Linked DNA regions of Homo sapiens: all the other regions are linked to region 1. The links are contacts of gene promoters, found by promoter capture Hi-C in human tissues and cell types (Jung and others, 2019). All regions are on one chromosome and are shown on one strand. Each heading gives the region's core, a stretch centred on a gene start or on the middle of the fragment in contact. The rest is flanking DNA. Distances are from core to core; before and after follow the strand shown.

Region 1 (2,880 bases), core at 191-2,690:
AGAGCATTAATTTCTAATGGCCCCATTTGGTATAGTTTCATAGGAAAGCTCTGAAACTATAATGTAGAAAGGAACTAAACTGCCTCCTTTTTTTTTTTGTAAGGTTCCTGCCTATGCCGGATTTCTTACCAGAGTTTGTTAAGTCTGCTCAACAGCTAAGGGAAGAAGGCTAAGAGTAAGTTTCATTCCGCTGTCTTGGCTTTAAAAGTTTGGTTTGGACTGTAGCATTGGATATGGCCTTGTTTCCAATATATACTTCAATATTAAAAAAAAAAAACAGAAAAAGGTTTTTAAAAACATAATTATGACTCCATAATCTGCCATGGGAAAGATTGCTTTCAGTTACTTTCTATGAGAACCCTAACCTAGGCATTATCATTCTTTTTAACCTGCTCAGATTTTCAATTTATGTCAGAAAACCCATGTTAATGTCGAACCTGCCCCTGCCTCAAGAGTAACTTGGTTTAACCTCTTGGGGCTTGTTGCATCATCAGCAATAATTGTCTTGCCAATGTCACAGTCACTGAAGGAGCAAACAAGATAACAGATGCAAACGCCCTTTGAAAAGTTCACTACGTATAAGTGAACCATCACTATTATTCTCAAAGTCTTATTTACAACCTTGGATGGCTGAATGAGCATAAGATGGCCAGACTTCACTGTTCCTAGTAAGTTTTCCATAGCCTCTGCTTTAGGAGAAATAAATTTCCTCACATCCAGTCTTTGCTTTGTTGACTGCTCAACACCCTCTTGTCTCGCTTGCTTTTCTGAGAGTGACCTTGACAGCATCCCTCCAAAGAGAAGGGTATTTCCTTTATATAGACATGCAGGTGCAGTCCCACCAAAATTTATTGAACTCCAAGCTAGAACAAAAGGTGGAGGTGCACCGATGAAGAAACAGGGCCTCTGCCTTCAGGAGCTTACAAGGCCATTAACAGAGAGTGATATTGATCTTATGCAAATGGCAGTTGCCGCCTACTTGCAGAAGAGCAGGGGCTACAGCCAAGCAGCAGGGGGCAGAAGAGGCTCGAGCTCGGCTCTGGAGGCCGATCTGGCCAAAGCCAGGATAGAAGCTCCCGTGACCCATTCGTGTGTGCGACTTGGAAGGCAGCCCTTCTGCCACTCCCCTTTCTTAAAGCCCAGAGCAAATAAAAGATCCTTTTCTACTACAGTAGATATACCTGTAGTCAGGACTTTGAACTCACAGCTATTCGCCGCACCATTCCCTCTTAAGGAACTACTGCGCCCTCCAGCGGAAGAACAGCGGCGGAACTCCACAGCGGCAGCTAAAATCCCTGAACGCTTTAAAGTCCTTCTCCTCAAGATACTCGGCTGCGTCTGGCCCCGCCCCTCACTGAGTTCCGCCCCGGGCGCAACCTCATCTTATGGCACCGATTGGCTGGCCCCTGTGCGTGAGGACGTTGCGCCGTGGGGAGGGGCGGACGAGAGGTGTCCGTCAGGCCGTGTGTCCCAGGCCGTCGACCCCGCTGTCGCGCTGCGTCTGCTCCTTGCATGCCTTTAGATGGTACAGCCTTCAGCCGGGGCTTCGGGAGACAGTGCAGCCACCGAGCATCTCTGCTGAGCTTCTCCGCCGATCCTCCTTTTCTAGCAGGCAGCTCTTCTAGGCCACGTCCAGGTCGAGGGGGAAAATGGCGCCGGCGCCCCTAGGCGTCCCGGAGGAGCAGTTGCTGGGGTGTCGATCTAGAGTGCTTTCTCGGTTACTCTTCATTGCCCAGACCGCTCTCCTCCTGTTGCCCGCCGCCGGAGCAGGTCTCTGCCCCGCGCCCTGCTCCTGCCGCATTCCTCTCCTGGACTGCAGTCGCAGGAAATTGCCCGCACCGAGCTGGAGGGCGCTGTCGGGCTTGCTGCCCCCCGACACCGCTATCCTGTGAGTAGAGCGGCCAGGCAGAGTGACCAAAAGGAGGGGGAGCCTTCCCTCTACAGGGGGCAGGCAGGAGGGAGACAGGCCTGGTCGGAGGGTGTGGTCGAGAGCCTAAGCTCTGAAGGAAACTGCCGTCAGGATTTTATGAACTTTGTTTTAGGTGGTGGGAGCCTAAAAAAGCCGGTGTTAAGGTTTCTGGAGAATTGTATGAAGACGAGGGTTAAGATTCTTGGGGCCAAGGAGTCTGTGATTTCCTCAACTGGGGAGGAAATGGGGCGGGCATATTTAATGGTAAGGACTCACGGGTCCTGGGCACCAGCATTGACTTTGGATGGTTGGTGGGGCGGGGGGTGGGTTGAGCACGGAACAGTGCTTTCTGCTTATCTTGAGCTGCATGATTTGGTGTGTACCTCAGACTTAGTGGTCCTCAGGCACGTGATTTTATAATCACAATCGCCAAAGACCTATGAACTGTCTTTAGTCCTTAGTTCGCATGTTGGCTGATTTTGTGCTGCAGTTTTGATACTTAACAGGGTTGAAAAGTTCATTATGATGAATCAGGAGATCCTGTAATTCAGAATATCTTTGTAAGTAGCATTCTTGATCTAATTTAAACTTCACTGTAAAGAGGAGGAGTATTTTTTGCAGAACCATTTGATGCTTTGTTTTCAGCGCATCTTCTTGTGGCAAAGAACCCAAAAATCAGTTCTGCTTATTTATGTAGGTAAAGCAGGTACAACGGTTGAATGAATTCTGGAGTTTCCACTGTTGAGTTTTCACTTTGACAGGTCTTTATTAGACAGTGGAACTTGGAGGGCTCCTTAGTCTGAGTCAGCCTGGTGGTATTAGGAACAACAGCAGGTATTAAATGCTGCAATTATGGGGCTTCTTAACCACTAACATACAGTTATTTCTCGTCACTAACTGAGCAGCACGTTTATTAACTGACAGATTTCTGATGGAGTCGTTAAGAAAGAGTCATCAATGGGCCAGGCGCG
Region 2 (3,090 bases), core at 20-2,519, 290 kb before region 1:
GAGTTTCACTCTTTTTGCCCAGGCTGGAGTGCAATGGCGCAATCTTGGGTCACTGCAACCTCCGCATCCCAGGTTCAAGTAATTCTCCTGCCTCAGCCTCCTGAGTACCTGGGGTTACAGGTGCCCACCACCATGCCCAGCTAAATTTTTTTGTATTTTTAGTAGAGATGAGGCTTCACCATATTGGCCAGGTTGGTCTCCAACTCCTGACCGCAGGTGCTCCACCAACCTCGGCCTCCCAAAGTGCCGGGATTACAAGCGTGAGCAACCGTGCCTGGCCCTAGTTTGTTCTTACATTGCTATAAAGAAATACTTTTCTCTTTCTTTTTTTTTTTTTTTTTTTTGAGCTGGAGTCTCACTCTGTCGCCAGGCTGGAATGCAGTGGCGCGATCTTGGCTCACTGCAACCTCTGCCTCCCAGGTTCAAGCGATTCTCCTGCCTCAGCTTCCCGAGTAGCTGGGACTACAGGTGCGCACCACCATGCCCAGCTAATTTTTTTATTTTTAGTAGAGACTGGTTTTCACCATGTTGGCCAGGAAGGTCTTGATCTCTTGACCTCGTGATCTGCCCGCCTTGGCCTCCCAAAGTGTTGGGATTACAGGCATGAGCCACTGCTCCCGGCAAGGAATTATTTTAAGCCTGTAATCCCAGCAGTTTGGGAGGCTGAGGCGGGCGGATCACAAGGTCAGGAGTTTGAGACCAGCCTGGCCAACATGGTGAAACCTTGTCTCTACTAAAAATACAAAAATTAGCCAGGCATGATGCCACGTGCCTGTATTCCCAGCTACTCGGGAGGCTGAGGCAGGAGAATTGCTTGAACCCAGGAGGCAGAAGTTGCAGTGAGCAGAGATCATGCCACTGCACTCCAGCCTGGGCAAGAGGGCAAGACTCTGTCTCAAAAAAAAAAAAAAAAAAAGGCCAGGTGTGATGGCTCACGCCTGTAATCCCAGCACTTTGGGAGGCCGAGGCAGGCGGATCACCTCAGGTCGGGAGTTCGAGGCCAGCCTGACCAACATGGAGAAACCCCGTCTCTACTAAAAATACAAAATTAGCCAGGCATGGTGGTGCATGCCTGTAATCCCAGCTAATTGGGAGGCTGAAGCAGGAGAATTGCTTGAACTCAGGAGGCAGAGGTTGCAGTGAGCCGAGATTGCACCATTGCACTCCAGCCTGGGCAACAAGAGCAAAACTCTGTCTCAAAAAAAAAAAGAAAGAAAGAAAGAAAGAAAGAAAGAAAAAAGAAAAGAAAAAAAAAGAAACACCTAAGACTGAGTAATTTTATTTATTTATTTATTTTTGAGACAGAGTCTCGCTCTGTCGCCCAGGCTGGAGTGCAGTGGCGTGATCTTGGCTCGCTGCAACCTTTGCCTTCTGGGTTCAAGCAATTCTCTGGTCTCAGCCTCCTGAGTAGCTGGGACTACAGGCACCCAACACCACAACTGGCTAATTTTTGTATTTTTAGTAGAGATGGGGTTTCACCATATTGGTCAGGCTGGTCTCAAACTCCTGACCTCAGGTTTTTCCCCTGCCTCGGCCTCCCAAAGTGCTGGGATTACAGGCATTAGCCACTGTGCCCAGCCAAGACTGGGTAATTTATTAAAGAAAAGAAATTGGCATTCTCCTGCCTCAGCCTCCTGAGTAGCTGGGATTACAGGCGCCCGCTACCATGCCCGGCTAATTTTTTGTATTTTTAGTAGAGACGGGATTTCACCGTGTTAGCCAGGATGGTCTTGATCTCCTGACCTCGTGATCCGCCCGCCTCGGCCTCCCAAAGTGCTGGGATTACAGGTGTGAGCCACCACGCCCAGCCTGACATTAAATCGACCAGCCTTTTGAGTGCTTCAGTGAGAGATTTTATGCAGAATCGCAGCCAAGACAAAAAGACAATCTGAGAGCAGGCACACACATTTTAGAGGACAAAATAATGAAATTTCTTTATCAGTTCCATCATTATATTTTTTTCATTAAAAAAAAAAAGAAATTGGCTGGGCACAGTGGCTCACGCCTATAATTCCAGCACTCTGGGAGGCTGAGGTGGGTGGATCACCTGAGGTCAGGAGTTTTAGACTAGCCTGGCCAACATGGTGAAATCCCGCCTCTACTAATAATACAAAAAAAAATAGCTGGGCGTGGTGATGCACACCTGTAATCTCAGCTTCTCGGGAGGCTGAGGCAGGCAGGACAATTGCTTGAACCCGGGAAGGGGAGGTTGCAGTCTGCCGAGATTGCGCCATTGCACTCCAGCCTGGGCAAAAAGAGTGAGACTCTGTTTCAAAAAAAAAGAAAAGAAAGAAAGAAGAGGTTTAGGCTGGGCTTGGTGGCTCATGCCTGTAATCCCAGCACTTTGGGAGGCTGAGGCGGGCAGATAACCTGAGGTCAGGAGTTCAAGACTAGCCTGACCAACATGGACAAACCCTGTCTCTACTAAAAATACAAAATTAGAGCTCGGCACGGTGGCTCACGCCTGTAATCCCAGCACTTTGGGAGGCCGAGGCAGGCAGATCACAAGGTCAGGAGATTGAGACCATTCTGGTTAACACGGTGAAACCCCATCTCTACTAAAAATACAAAAAATTAGCTGGGCGTTGTGGTGGGCGCCTGTAGTCCCAGCTACTCGGGAGGCTGAGGCAGGAGAATGACCTGAACCCGGGAGGAGGAGCTTGTAGTGAGCGTAGTGAGCAGAGATGGCACCACTGCACTCCAGCCTGAGAGACAGTGAGACTCTGTCTCCAAAAAAAAAAAAAATAATACAAATTTAGCTGGGCGTGGTGGCTCATGCCTCTAATCCCAGTTACTCGGGAGGCTGAGGCAGGAGAATTGCTTGAACCAGGGAGGTGGAGGTTGTAGTGAGCTAAGAGATCATGCCATTGCACTCCAACCTGGGCAACAAGAGTGAAACTCCATCTCAAAAAAATAATAATAGTAAAAAAAAAGGGGTTTAATTAATTTACAGTTCCACCAACTGTATAGGAAGCATGATGCTGGTATCTGCTCAGCTTCTGGGGAAGCCTCAGTCAACTTACAATCATGGCCGAAGGCAAAGGGGAAGCAGACACATCTTACATGGCCAGAGTAGGACTGAGAGAGAGA
Region 3 (3,196 bases), core at 669-3,168, 480 kb after region 1:
CATATAGCTGTTACTAGGATTTAAAATGAGAGCATATATGTAAACTGCTTGGCCTAGAGAGGCACTCAAGCAGTGTTTGTCCCCTTCCCCCATTCTAACTGGATCTCCTCCCTCTCATTTCACCTCGATTCAATCAGTTTTTAAAGTGCACATTTCTCAGCACTATAGGAAAGGGAAAAAAATTTAAAAATAAAGTGGACATCTGATTCTTGTCCAAAATCTATAGTTTATCCTTCAAAGATTTCTACTGACAAAGTTCAGACTCCTTAGCATCGCATAAAATATTTTTTGTTTTTTTAATCTGCCTCCTTATCTATGATTTCCTCCTACAAATCTACCTTGTAGCTGCAGATTGTAACTTCTGCCTTTATTTCAATTTGTATTTGCCTGATGTGTCTTTGTCCATCTTGTTATTCTTAAAGTCTCTGAATCTCTGTTTTACAAATAGTTCTAGACTTTACTCAGTAGCCAGTGTGAAACTTCTTAAATTTTTATTGATGTGATCAATATCTTTAGCCTCAGTTCTGTCATGGTTTTTATATTTACCATATATAAGCCTTTTGTATGAAAAGCTTTTCACTGTGTAGTCATTTTATTTGATCTCTTTTTAGGAAGGTTTGTAGGGATCTTTTTTTTAATGGTTACCTTGATACCTTTATATAATAATCTTTGTTCCTCCCTCCCTATTTTTTTGCTTCTGTCTCTACTATGAGTAATATTAAAATTACTTAGTCATCTCTTCTTTTTCCTTCCTTCTCTCCCATCATCTGACTTGAAGTAATATCTTTTTATTCCTACGAAATATAAGGTAATCAGTAAATGTATCCCACACTTTGCTGTGCTTTTCTCATTCTTACCCTACTTTTTTTGATAGTTGGGCTGTTGTTCTACATTGGCTAAGCAAATAGCCATTACATTACTGTACTTTCCTCCTTTATAATTATCATTTATCTTTTATTCTGTGGGTAAATACATATTTAATATAACCACCAATCCTTATGTTGTTATTTTTCACTAATTGTAGTTGTCTAAAGCTTTTTCTTTACTCGTTTTCCCAGCAAAGGCTCACAGGATCATCTTAGGAGTTTGTTTGTGGCCTTTATACTTTGATGTTTGTTTGGATGGATATAAAATTTTTGACTCATTTTCTTTCCTTGACTATCTTAAATATATTAGTCAACTATCTAACTGTTTTTGGCATAAAGCATTGCTCTTAAAGAGTTTGGTAGCAATCTAATTTTCATTCCTTTGTAAGTAACTTGATATTTTGCCTGCATGGGATGTCTCATTTTTAGTTTCATAGCTCTAGAGCTTCCTCTTCCCTTGTTAAAACAAGATAATAAAAATATGTACTTGTACTTTCTAAGATAGGTCTTTTTTTTATACTGCCCTCTGCCACTTTCACTTAAGTTTTTCTTTTAATTTTATTGTTCCAGTTTTGCAGTTTCCTCAGTGTGAGGTTTTTATCCTAGAAGGGAGCTAAAATTTATTTTGTTTCATTTCACAGGGTCCAAGCAGCTGTAGCCCTTTTAGATCTCAACAGGCCCTCTTAACTTACACAAAAATTGAAGTGTCCAAAGCTCCCTCTAGGAACCTAGACGCAATGACACATCAGTAGCAGGTAGCATACTGAAGGGTCACATGTGATCTCTAAATATCATACTTTCCTAAAAAGTTTGAGGTCTCCTTGGAGATAGTTCTGATTCTAGGTCTGGTACAAGGAAAGTACAAGATGAGCTTTGGAGCATATAAGTGTATCAGAAAGTATATAGTGCTTAAAACATTATAGAGACATATCAGAAGGACATAGAAGCCACCTAGAAGGGGTGCTTGATACTTACTCCAAAAATCTGAAACAATTTGAGCAACAACGTTGAAAAAAGAGGGCACTTCTATTATTGTCAGATATTGAGCTGTAGGTGGAACAGGACTATGATCCTTGAGAGAAGAAGAAAGGAGACCACACACAGAGGAATCCTATAATTTCCTCAACTTTCTACTTAGAGGCACTTTCTGGACCACAGCACAAGGAGGGAGAGTCCAGGCAGAGTACAATGGACTCTGAGTTGAAGGGACAGAAATCTGAGTTCAAGAAGCCTGAGGTATCTGGAATTTGCAGGACAGAATGTCACAGAGGAGAGGGCTATGAAGAAAAAGAGCTCAAGCAATCTGTAAAGGCACCCCCTTGACTCTGTGGCTGAATACTAAGCTGAGAATATGTAGGACCAGACTCTTCAAGGTTAAACCAAAAAATCTCTCGGAGTTTTAAGTTTAACAATTCCCAGAGCTTACCCAGGGGCCAGGAGACATTTGAGTTCTAATCAGCTTGGTGGAAGAATCCCATAAGGGTCCTCCCTTACTAGCAGGGCTAAAATAGTCAGATAAAGCTCCTCTAGGCCTGCTTTAACAAAGCTTAATTAAGCAAGACCCCAAAGGATCAAGTGAATATGCATGCAACTTAACTGCTAGCAAAAAAGGAAGAAAGAAGGAAAGAAGTAAATCAACACTCTTTAAAGAAAGATAGTGTCTGGGCTCAGTGGCTCACGCCTGTAATCCCAGCACTTTGGGAGGCTGAGGCAGGCGGATCATGAGGTTAAGAGATTGAGACTATCCTGGCCTACATGGTGAAACCCCATCTCTACTAAAAATACAAAAATTAGCTGGGCGTGGTGGCGGGTGCCTGTAGTCCCAGCTACTTGGGAGGCTGAGGCAGGAGAATTGCTTGAACCTGGGAAGTGGAGGTTGCAGTGAGCCGAGATCGTGCCACTGCACTCCAGCCTGGTGACAGAGCGAGACTACGTCTCAAACAAACAAACAAAAAAATAGAAAGACAACAAAATGGAAACATTGTGTAACAAAATATTCAGAGTGTCCAGCATCTAATAAAAAATTACTAGACCTGCAAAAAGCAGGAAAATGTGACCCATAATCAAAAGAAAAGTCAGCTGATAGAAAAAAGAAACAGAAATGACACATGATGGCATTACTATACCAGGAGTTTTAGTTATTAGAAATATGCTCAAGGATTTAAAGAACAGTATCAACATAATGAAGAGAAAAATTATATATAAATATTCATATGTGTGTGTGTGTGTGTGTATGAATGAAGTGGAACCTTAAAAATTCACTGAATGGACTCAACAGGAGATTCAAAACTGGAGAAGAAAAGATCAGTGAACCTGAACACGTAGCAATA

What was found. Contacts are between HindIII fragments. The study calls those that stand out against the background at their distance.
Region 2: a contact is called between a fragment that was not itself captured here and the fragment with the promoter of LRIG2 in region 1, in 2 of the 25 tissues and cell types used here (H1 embryonic stem cells and thymus).
Region 3: a fragment that was not itself captured here is called in contact with the fragment with the promoter of LRIG2 in region 1 in 1 of the 25 tissues and cell types used here (hippocampus).

Annotation. Positions count from the first base shown.
Region 1 is chr1:113,071,758-113,074,637 of GRCh38, forward strand. It overlaps LRIG2 (leucine rich repeats and immunoglobulin like domains 2), which reads left to right and starts at 1,441. Exons shown (of 18, transcript NM_014813.3): 1 at 1,441-1,888. The coding sequence starts at 1,650. LRIG2-DT (LRIG2 divergent transcript) reads right to left here and starts at 1,345. Exons shown (of 3, transcript NR_103777.1): 1 at 1,182-1,345. RefSeq lists enhancers at 912-1,161, 1,220-1,753, 1,412-1,721, 1,754-2,285, 1,902-1,961 and 1 more. The HindIII fragment of the contact is 29,814 bases long and covers 1-2,880 here.
Region 2 is chr1:112,784,573-112,787,662 of GRCh38, forward strand. No RefSeq gene overlaps it. Among named protein-coding and RNA genes, the nearest start is that of NUTF2P4, 38 kb to the left of the region's middle. The HindIII fragment of the contact is 8,522 bases long and covers 1-3,090 here.
Region 3 is chr1:113,551,204-113,554,399 of GRCh38, forward strand. The region is part of intron 2 of MAGI3 (membrane associated guanylate kinase, WW and PDZ domain containing 3); the gene reads left to right. Among named protein-coding and RNA genes, the nearest start is that of MAGI3, 160 kb to the left of the region's middle. The HindIII fragment of the contact is 6,323 bases long and covers 1-3,196 here.